2 separate regions of the Homo sapiens genome follow, and region 2 is linked to region 1. Evidence: promoter capture Hi-C in 16 types of primary human blood cells and fetal thymus (Javierre and others, 2016). All regions are on one chromosome and are shown on one strand. The core of a region is centred on a gene start or on the middle of the fragment in contact, and the rest is flanking DNA. Distances in the headings are between cores, read along the strand shown.

What was found. Contacts are between HindIII fragments. The CHiCAGO score rates a contact against its expected background, and 5 or more counts as called.
Region 2: a contact is called between the fragment with the promoter of CLPTM1L here and the fragment with the promoter of LPCAT1 in region 1, in 2 of 17 cell types (naive CD4 T cells and monocytes). The highest score is 6.1, in naive CD4 T cells.

The regions. Positions count from the first base shown.
Region 1 is chr5:1,520,687-1,526,037 of GRCh38, reverse strand. LPCAT1 (lysophosphatidylcholine acyltransferase 1) reads left to right here and starts at 2,078. Exons shown (of 14, transcript NM_024830.5): 1 at 2,078-2,328. The coding sequence starts at 2,194. RefSeq lists a cis regulatory region at 686-921, silencers at 1,691-2,090, 2,111-2,420, 2,691-2,890 and an enhancer at 4,051-4,555. The HindIII fragment of the contact is 5,602 bases long and covers 1-4,527 here.
Region 2 is chr5:1,342,783-1,347,489 of GRCh38, reverse strand. CLPTM1L (CLPTM1 like) reads left to right here and starts at 2,391. Exons shown (of 17, transcript NM_030782.5): 1 at 2,391-2,810; 2 at 3,039-3,139. The coding sequence starts at 2,649. The HindIII fragment of the contact is 23,624 bases long and covers 1-4,707 here.

The DNA.
Region 1 (5,351 bases), core at 829-3,328:
TCTGGAGGCCAGAAGCCTGCGATCATGGCACCCTAGGCCTAGGCTCCCTCTGAGAGCACTAGAGAGGACCTGCTCCAGGCCTCTCCAGCTCCTGGGAACTGCTTGCCTGTAGCAGCAGAACCCTGGCCTTCCCATGGAGCTCTCTCTGTGTCTGTCTCTGAGACCGAATCTCCCTCTCTATAGGGACACAAGCCATTTCAGACTAGGGCCCACCCTAATGACTTCCTCTTAACCTGATCATCTGCAAAGACCCTGTTTCCAAATAAGGTCGCGGCCACAGGTGCTGTGGGTTAGGACTTTTGCATCTTCTGGGGACACAGCCATGACTCTCTGGCAGCTCTCCCCATTGAATCTGGCTCTGCACCATCTCCAGCAGGTTTCCCCTCCGCCACACACCGCTTCCTGGCCTGTGCTTCTGGGAGGACCCCACTTTCATGGCTCTCCAAGTCCAGTCCTGAGGCTGCTCTCATCCCAGGACTGGGACACCCTAGGGCCCCTCCTCTCCAGAGCACTCAGGCAGCAGGTGGGGCCGCCTGGATCGCTGGGGTGCAGGTGCTGCCCTGTGGCTGGCAGGCTTTGTGTCCTGGGCTTTCTTGATGATCAGTTCGGTGAGGAGCCTTGGGTGGCCTCGGGTGCTGGGCTCTGGTTTTGGGGATCAGAGCAAGTGGCCACTAAAAGCCCAGGAGGTGGGTGCAACGCTGGTGGCTGGGCCACAGAGCCACCAATGCCCACCAGCACACAGGGCTCACCCCATCCCCGTGGGTGTGGCACTTGGGACAGGTGCTGCTGCTAGGCATGGGCTGGGACTCTTATGGGGCAGGAATATGGGCTGGGACTCTTATGGGGCAGGAATAAGGCCATGCAGCGGGTCTGGCCTGCCGGGGCCTTCTCTGTGCATGATATGTGGATGGCACAGACCCCTGGCCCTCACCCCGGTCTCAGACACAGAAGGGTCTCTGCCAGCCCGCTGCACTATGAGGTCCACAAGGGCGCAGGCAGGGTCATTGGAGGGGTCGGGGCACTCCCTGGCGTCTGCTGAGGATGGGGCCCAGCTGGGGCCAACACAGCAGTGACATCCCCAGGAGCCAGGACCCTGGGGGGTTGGCCAGGTGGCCCAAACCGGCTCTGTCTGGGTGAGGTCCGTTGGCCATGAAGGAACCAACAGGGCCAGCCGGGGTGAGGAAGCCGTGAGCACTGTGACCGAAGGCCTGCGTGAGTTCTGAAATCCAAGCGTGTTCACCCGGAGGCAGGAGCCCATCCTACTCTCGCTCCGGCTAATTATGGGCCCCACCCTGGGGCTCCTCACACGGCTCCTGAGCACCACAAGGGCAATGCCCGAGCCAAAGCAGCTACGGGTGAGAAAGCGCTGGGATCTCATCGCAGCCCCTGCACAACCAGCACGGACAGTCAGGGCCCCTATGTGCGCCTCCTGCCTGGGCCATCCCTGCGGGGCCTGAGGCCTGAGAGGTCCTGAGATCGGAGGGGTCCTGAGGTCTGAGGGGGTCCTGAGGCTTGAGGGGTCCTGAGATCTGAGGGGATCCCGAGGTCTGGGGGGTCCTAAGGTCGAGTGGACCTCAGGCGGGAGTCGCCTGGGCTGAGGCGCGGCTGGAAGAAGCTCCCTCAGCCCGGGGCAGCTTCCAGGGTCGCCGGTGCGAGCTAGGAGCCCAACGAATAAGAAGAATGGCGTGGGGCCTTCGCCGGAACAGCCCGGGGCTCGGCACCCAGGGCCTGGCCCGCCTTGCGCGTAAGCTGGACGCGTGCCCGCCCCTTCCTCCCTCCCCGCGAGCAGGCGGGCCGAGCGGCGGAAGGGGACGACGTGGCAGCCTCGCGGGCCCGGGGGACCTCCCTTTCTCCTGGCGCAGACCCTGCCGGGGATCCCTGTGCTCCAGTGGCTGCAGGAGGCGCCCCCGGTCCCCAGCGGCCCCGGCCCCCCACAGACCCCAGAGAAACCACCAGGTAGCGGAACTCCGGCTGGTGCCGCCCCTGCCGGCCGGCGGGAGGCGAGGCTTCCAGGGACGCCCCGCCCCGGCCGGCGCTCCCGCTCCGCCCACGTCACCTCCCGCGCCTGCGCGCCCGGCCCGCTCCAGCCGCCGCGCATCCTCGGCCCGCGCCCCGAGACCCGCGCCCAGCTAGCCCCGGCCCCGCTCGGCGCCCCAGGCAGCTCGGCTGCGCTCGCCGCGGGACGGCGCGGCCATGAGGCTGCGGGGATGCGGACCCCGGGCCGCCCCTGCCTCCAGCGCAGGGGCCAGCGACGCTCGGCTGCTGGCGCCCCCGGGGCGGAACCCCTTCGTGCACGAGCTGCGCCTCAGCGCCCTGCAGAAGGCCCAGGTGGGTGCCCAGGGCGCGCGGCCCCGGGAGCCGGCGCGGACGCCAGGGATGCTGGGGCCAGGGAGGCGCGGCCGAGGAGGGGCCGGGGAGGGGGCCTGGGGCGCGGCGCGGCCCTGCGAGCCGCGGCGCCTTCCCTCCCCGCGGCCGCCCCTCAGTTCGCGTCCCCGCCGCCCGCACCCGATGCCTCGGTCTCGGCGCCGGCTTCCCGCCGCCCGCACGCGCATCCTGGTCCCTCAGCGCCTTCCTCGGGGTCCCCGCTTCCCATCCCCGCCCCGCGTTCTGCTCCTCCCCCCAGACCCCTGCACCCTGAACCGGGCCCACAACCCTTTCTCTGCCTCCCAGAGCCCCGACCTCGGCTCCCGCGGGAGGCTGGACCCGCATCGCCGGTCCCCGCGCTCGTCCCTGGTCCGGGCCCCGCCCGCCTTGGCAGGCCCTGCGCGCAGCCCGGGGACTCCGGAGCGGCTTTGCCTGGACGCGGCCCGCGGGCGGGAGGGCACCGCGGCTCTGGGTGAGCCTCGTGTGCGGGGCCTGGTGGTGCCCGGGACAGGGCGCGCGGGCGGTGCGGGTCCCCTGTAGGGTCCCCTGTAGGCGCACGGGTCTCCCTGCTCTGCGGCCGCACGTTGCCTTCTGGGGTGCATGCTTCGCTCCTGTTGTAAGGGATGCTTTCTCGGGGCTGGTCTGACCCGAATCAACTTTATGCAACCTGGGCTGCCACGTGGGAGGGAACGGTTTGCTGAGATCCTGCGATGGGACAGTGGTGAGGGGAGACCCGGGGGCGTCGTGGGGAGGGGGCCGCTCGCTGCAGGAAGCTGCACCGGGGATGTGCTGGCTCAGCCTGGCTTTTCCGGCTACCTGGCTGCCAGCTGGGCTTACAGTTACCTGAGATCCACTCTCAAGAGGACCTTACTTTTGACTCTAGAATAATTCCTAGAAGCAAGCACTGTTTCGGGGCCTATGGGGCTGTCCGGTTTGTAGGGAGCACGCTTCCAATTGTGAGAATAGATTTCCGGGAAGATGGAGATTTGTTAATGCATAAAGTACTTTATCTGAAAGAACCCTGAAGTGAAAAGTTCTTGAGGCCAGTTTGAGCTTGTCATTTTCCCAGGACGCCTGCTTTTGCTCAAAGCCCCTTGATGCGGCTGGTCCTCAGGGTATGGAAGGGGACGGGGAGCAGGAGAGCCCGATGGTGCCGCCCCTCCTGGTGACACACAGGGTGAGGTCGTCCCCAGCCTGGCTCCCAGGCCCTGGCCCCCGTCTCCCTGTGTGTCGGGAGCTGGACTCTGGGGCTGGGGCGGTGCCGGCCCCTCTGCCGCCGCTCTGCCTGGCCCTCTGTCTGCCACACGCTGTCAGCTGCCGTGTGCTGTGCCCCTCAAAGGAGGACTTGGGACACGGTCGCTCATTCTGTGCCCCTCAACCATTCCTCCTCTTCAATCCTCACCCCCACCCAGCCACCAGGCTCTCTCCCTGGTCACTCTCCCTGAGTCACTCCCAGCAGGCTTTCTTCCTCCTGCACTCTGCTGCTCGGAAGCCCTCAGCGGGGACGCCCCCGGATGAAATTCGAACCCCTGCTGTGGTTTCCAGGGCTTCCCCAGCCCTGCTCCTGCCCCAGCTATGGCTGCCTCAGGCATGCTCTCTCTTCCTGCCTTTCCTACTCCCTCCTGGCTCCCTGGGGGGAAACATCAAGCCCCTCCCTGGAGGTCCCCGGAGGCCACTTCGTCATCCCTGTCATAGTTGCAGCCCCCGGTTGAGGTGTGTTCTGTCCAAAAGTGTGCACCCACTGCCCTGGCGAGAAGCAGGGCAGAGACTCTCATGGGTAGGTACAGATGTCAGGGCACTGCCAGAGTGCCCAGAGGGGCCTGCTTTCCTCCCCGAGACCTCAGGGTGCAAGCTGCTCCCAGTGGCTCTTGGGCAGGGGGTCATCGAGAGGCTCCTGGTCCCGAGATTGAAGGCTTTGGGCAGCTGTTCTCCCTTGGGCCGAAGCCAGGCAGAGATCCTGGCTTGAGGTGTTGGGGCCTCTCAGAGAGGGGGCTTGCTTTGTTGCCACTTCAGAGGTTCCATCTGAGGAATTAGGTGTGTTTGTACATCCAGTCGTTTCTGCTGGATGTCTGCAATGTGTGGCTCAAGGGTTTAGTTTGTAAACGTTCTCAAAGTTCTCTGCAGAAACATTTTGCTTTTCACCAAGCATTGCTTTGCAAAGCTTTTACTTTGATGTGATATATTCTTGTAAAGTTTCCACAGAGTGAAATAGCCTGTCTTTCAAGCCAAGAAAGCCTTCTTCCCCAAAGAAAGAAATGGGTCCAGTAGTGGCTGACACACTCAAGAACCCGCAGAAACCCAGCTAAGTTCCCAGTTGAGATAAACCAGTGAGTACCTGCATTTACCTGTGAGCATTTGCCGCCTGGGAGGGGCTGCTGTGTGTCTTCGGATTAGCGCCATGCGGGGACACCTCCTCCTCCAGCCAGCCCATCTGTCATTTAACTACAGATTTAGTGAGGAGCTTAAGTATCTCTTTGGACAGAAAACAGCACATTAAGATCTGAAAAGAGGTATCAAAGCCATCAGGGTCTGTAATACGTGCAATGTTTTAATCCTCTGGCTAAAGCAAGGATATAGATTTAGTAGAGAGCGGTAAATGGTATGGTACAGGATCTTAGTGAGTTCAGCTGAGGTTCTTCATAGTCACACATTCATATATCGTTTTGGAGTCATGAAGTGGTTTCTGTCACCCAGGGTTTTCTCGGTACTTTCCTTGGAATCTGTGGGTATGAGTATTTCCCACTATGGTTCTGATGCGTTTTCCCCATTTCTTTTTTTTTTCTTTTTCTTTTTCTTTTTTTTTTTTTTTTTTTGAGACAGTCTCTCTCTGTCGCCCAGGCTGGAGTGCAGAGGTGCGATATCGGCTCACTACAAGCTCTGCTTCCCGGGTTCACGCCATTCTCCTGCCTCAGCCTCCCGAGTAGCTGGGACTACAGGCGCCCGCCACAATGCCCGGCTAATTTTTTTTTGTATTTTTAGTAGAGATG
Region 2 (4,707 bases), core at 1,142-3,641, 180 kb after region 1:
GATAAAAGCATTATAAAATGTTGATAAATTCTCTAACCATAGACGTGGAGCTCAGTGAGTACGAATGCAAGATGTGACTCCCCCAGGCCTAGAAAGAAAGCCTTAGCTTCAGAGACGTGGGTAACCTTGGCTCTCTACGGGAGTGAGGCCAACAAGGCCAGCAGAACAGGGTCAAGCAGCTCCTGTTGCCCAAGCAGCCACAGCCGCCTGGCCTTCACTGCATCCAGCTGTGCAGTGGCAGAGAGGATGCTGCGTGGGGACAGCAGGAGGAGAGGCCTTCAAGACCCAGGCCAGCTAAGCCTGGGGAGATAGAAGCAGCCACCACGCTGGGGGAGTGTGGACGCAGGAGTTTGAGGAGTTCTGCGGGGTGCTGAATGGGGTCCTCCTCTGGCGCTTTCTTGAGGGAGTTCTGCAATGATCCACATTCTTTCCAGGGACTTTCTTTCAAGTGCTGTCATATGCTGCCGCGGCTTGCCGGCAGCCCAGCCTCAGGCGGTCGGAGTCGGAAGGCGACAGATGCAGGGCTCCCTTTCCTCATCGGTTCTCTCAACAGGGCAGGGGGACGGCCATGAGTGGGCAAATGTGTCCAGACCACTGAAGAACCTCTCATCTGCTCAGCTGGAGAGGCCCTTCCTGTCTCTGTGATCTTTCCCAAGATGGCCAATGTCCTGTACCACCGGCCACCCCTTCCGTTGGTCACTGTGGATGACACTAGGGGTGGACACTGACCAAGGAGGCACCAACCTGATTCCAGCTCCTAGAGCTGGCCAGGTGCCTGACAGGAAAATGAGGCATCTGAAGAACACGGAGAGATGGGGGTAGGGTGGTAGGGAGGGAGGGAGATGAAGCCACACCCCAGAGCTCCTGGGTTTGCAGCTCCTTCCCGAGGCCTGGCTAGGTCCCTGCCTCGGTCCCTGCCTCTGGATGCCGTGAGACAATCCACCCTGGAGAGCCTACCAGTCCCCTTATGTTTGACAGCTGGAGTTGGAATTTGCCTCCCGCAGACCACAGGTCTACAGCCTTCATTCACGTGTCGCACAGACTGTGGCAGGACCAGCACCCGCTGCTGGTGTGGGACGCCTGGCCCTGTAGGGGACCCCAAGAGTGGCTGGAGAGCAGGGCGTGATGCCTCTTGGGCCACCCTGCAAAGGGCTCACGAGCCTCCTGAGGAGGATGCATTTGATCAGGGTAACAGGAGTCAGCAGAGGGCTTTCCAAGGACAGGTTTGCCAAGAAGCGAGAACAGACTGAGGGGGGAACGATAGAGGCACTGGGTGTAGTCAGACACCACTGCAATGGTAGCCGAAAACCGCGCCGTGAGAAGACTCTGTGGGGAGGGTAACTAGGTGCATGAGAGTGAGAGGAGCGAAAAAAGCCTCGGATGGCTCCGAAGCTCCTGGCCCAGCTTCCAGGGGTTGGTGGCCCAGGACCGCCCCTGCACGCGGCCTCGGGTGCCTGCTCCAGGCAGACCTGCTTCTCTGGCCCATTCTCGGCACCAATCACTGTCCCATCCGCCCGTCAGCCAAGTCCTCTGAGTTCTTCCCGGAGCCCAGCACCCTGATGCAATTGTCCCTGCTCTGAAAACCCTCAGCAATCTATTGGGTCTTCAGTAGCATCTACTCTTTCTAGAAATGTCGAACAAGGTTTTTCGATTGTGCTGCACGTGTGGCAGACACAGAAACGGAAACGACCTTCCAGAGAACTGGCCAAAGGACGGGAGCTGCTCCAGTAACTGAAGGGCACAGACTGAGCGCTTCTGATGGAGTCGGGGAGGTCGCCGGCCCATCCACCGGCTGCCCGAGGGCCTCCCACTGACCTCCCCCGGCCGCCCTCCGAGGGGCCTCTGCTGACCTCGCCGTGCTGGGCACGCTCGGCTTTAGCGGGAAGCTGGGGGTCAGGTTCAAGGCTGTGAGGAGCCACTTCAGCCCGGGAATCTGAATTTTTTCTTCAAAAGCGCCTGTCCCCACAATGGGTTTGTACTGGGGAAAAAACCCACACACGGGATGAGGTGCCCGGCTTCTGTGAGGGTTCTGAGCACTTCGTTTTTCTTCCCTTTAGATTCTGACAACTGTGGACTAAAAGGGTTGCAGGCCCAGTGCCGGAATTCCAGTATCACCTTCCACCAGGCTCCTCACACGTCGACATGGCCCCCACTTGGTGGTCTGGCAGGCGTCGGCGGTTGGGGACGGCGCCCCGGGGACCCCGCGGCCCTAGCCTTCCCCGGCGCCCCGCGAACGCCCTCCGCGGCCCCAGCAGCTGAGCGCCTGGGTCCCTGAGAGGCACCCCAGGAGGGCGGCGCGGGCGGGTAACGTCACACACGCGCCGCATCCTGGATGCGCGTGCGCGGCAGCGGCCGAGACTCCGTTTCCCAGGGAGCCGCGCGGCGCGTCCACTTCCGGCAGGCGGCGGGGCCCGGAAGCGGCGCGCGGGGCCGGCGAATCCCGCGGCGCCAGGTGGGAGCGGGGCCGGAGCATGCGGGGCGGCCGGCGGTCTGCGGCGCGCGGCGCATTCGTTCCCCCGCGGCGGTGGCGGTGGCGCGCGGCGGCTCTCCAGTGAGCGGCGGAGCCCGGAGCGGCGGGCTGGGCGCCGGGCGGGCGGGGCTCGCGGCTGAGAGGCGGGCGGGCCGGGGGCGCCGGGCGCGGGGCCGCCATGTGGAGCGGCCGCAGCTCCTTCACCAGCTTGGTGGTGGGCGTGTTCGTGGTCTACGTGGTGCACACCTGCTGGGTCATGTACGGCATCGTCTACACCCGCCCGTGCTCCGGCGACGCCAACTGCATCCAGCCCTACCTGGCGCGGCGGCCCAAGCTGCAGGTGAGCGTCCGCGGGGCCGGGGGCCGGGCGGGTTGGGGTGGGGGCCTCTCCTCCAGGCCCCAGACGTCGCCTTCCCGTCCCAGTTCGGAGCTGTGGCCGCGCGAGTCGAGATGGAACCTTTCCTGGTTCCCCAGCGGCCAGGTCTTCCGCCCTCCAGCTGGCCGTGGGATTTGAGTGCGTCCTGCCAGGGCCTGGCCGAGCTGACTCTCGACGCCCCCTCCTTTCCAGCTGAGCGTGTACACCACGACGAGGTCCCACCTGGGTGCTGAGAACAACATCGACCTGGTCTTGAATGTGGAAGACTTTGATGTGGAGTCCAAATTTGAAAGGTATGGGCGTAGGACAAAATGCCAGTGAAAGGGAAAACATTACTCATGTTCAGATTGTTTAAAAGTTAGCTTTCTGTACATAACATGTTTATTTTAGAGAACTAGTCTTACCGAATGTCTTGAAGTGGTAGAATATCCTAACTGGAGGCCTATGCGTGGCCTGTAAACATTCAGCCTGGAAGGTGACAGGTGATGAATGTCGTTTAAGAAGTAGTTCTCAGCAGAGTGTGATGGCAGTGGGATGTCCTGGACGGGGAGGCTCCGAAGGAGCAGGGGCCACGCTTGGTGAACCAGTGGAGAGCAGACAACTCTGCAGTTTCACTACCGGGGACCAACTTGTCTTTTCCTGGTGGAAGTAGTTCGCTTAAGTTACTTGTGAGGGAAAAGAGATGAGGATAGAGGAAGCAATTTTGTAGAAAATCATAAATAAGTGACATGTGACGTTAGAATAGATCAATGTCCAAATATGTAGAGTATCTTAAAAATTACATCTGACATGGCCTAATTTTTTTTAATTGAATAAGTATACTTTTAAATATGATTTGCTTCTCACAAGTCAACCATTTCCCTTCATTGCCTGGGAGGTATCTGAGGAGAGAATAATGAAAGTTTGAGACTCATGCTGGACTCCACGCCCTCTAGGCAGCCAGTCCCTGGGGGTAGCTGGAGGCGCTGGCAAGCCGGTTTCTGCCTGGCCTCTTTAGGCCTGTGACCTCAAGCCAGTTCCTGCCCTCTCTCTGCCTCCATGAAGGGGAGGCCAGAAGTGCTGGTGACCAAGCTGCCCGCTCGGTTGTAGCTGCCCACACCTTTCAAAAATGCTCAGGATTCATCTGCACTGGGTTTAATTTCCCAGACATGAATACTGCCTCTTCCGTGCCGGGCCGTGTACCAGTTACCAAGGACAGCTAGTGAGGTTTTCCATTTGACCTGGCACAGTGTCAGCCTGGAGGAAGTGGGGAGAATGAGCACTCTTAACACAGCTCCGCCTCAAGTGTCTCCAAGTGCACATTCCACCAGAAATACACAGCCCTGCACCCTCTGCCTGAAGAGAGACACTTAAGATGTCCTGGTGGAGACATACTCTTTCCTGGGTAGTGAGGAGCCATAGATGCCTTTGTGTTTTTCATTACAACTTTGGCCGTAAGATTTTTTTTTTTTTTTGAGATAGAGTCTTGCTCTGTTGCCAGGCTGGAGTGCAGTGGCGTGATCTCTGCTCACTGCAACCTCCGGTTCCCGGGTTCAAGGGATTCTCCTGCCTTAGCCTCCAAAGTAGCTGAGACTACAGGCACCCGCCACCACGCCTGGCTAATTTTTTTATTTTTAGTAGAGACAGGGTTTCACCATGTTGGCTGGGCTGGTCTGAAACTCCTGACCTCGTGATCTGCCCGGCTCGGCCTCCCAAGGTGCTGGGATTACAGGCGTGAGCCGCCGCACCCGGCCAACCGTAAGATTTTTAAGGAGAGGCCGGGCACAGTGACTCATGCCTATAATCCCAGCAGTTTGGGAGGCCAAGGCGGGAGGATCACTTGAGCCCAGCAGTTCAAGACCAGCCTAGGCAATGTGACAAA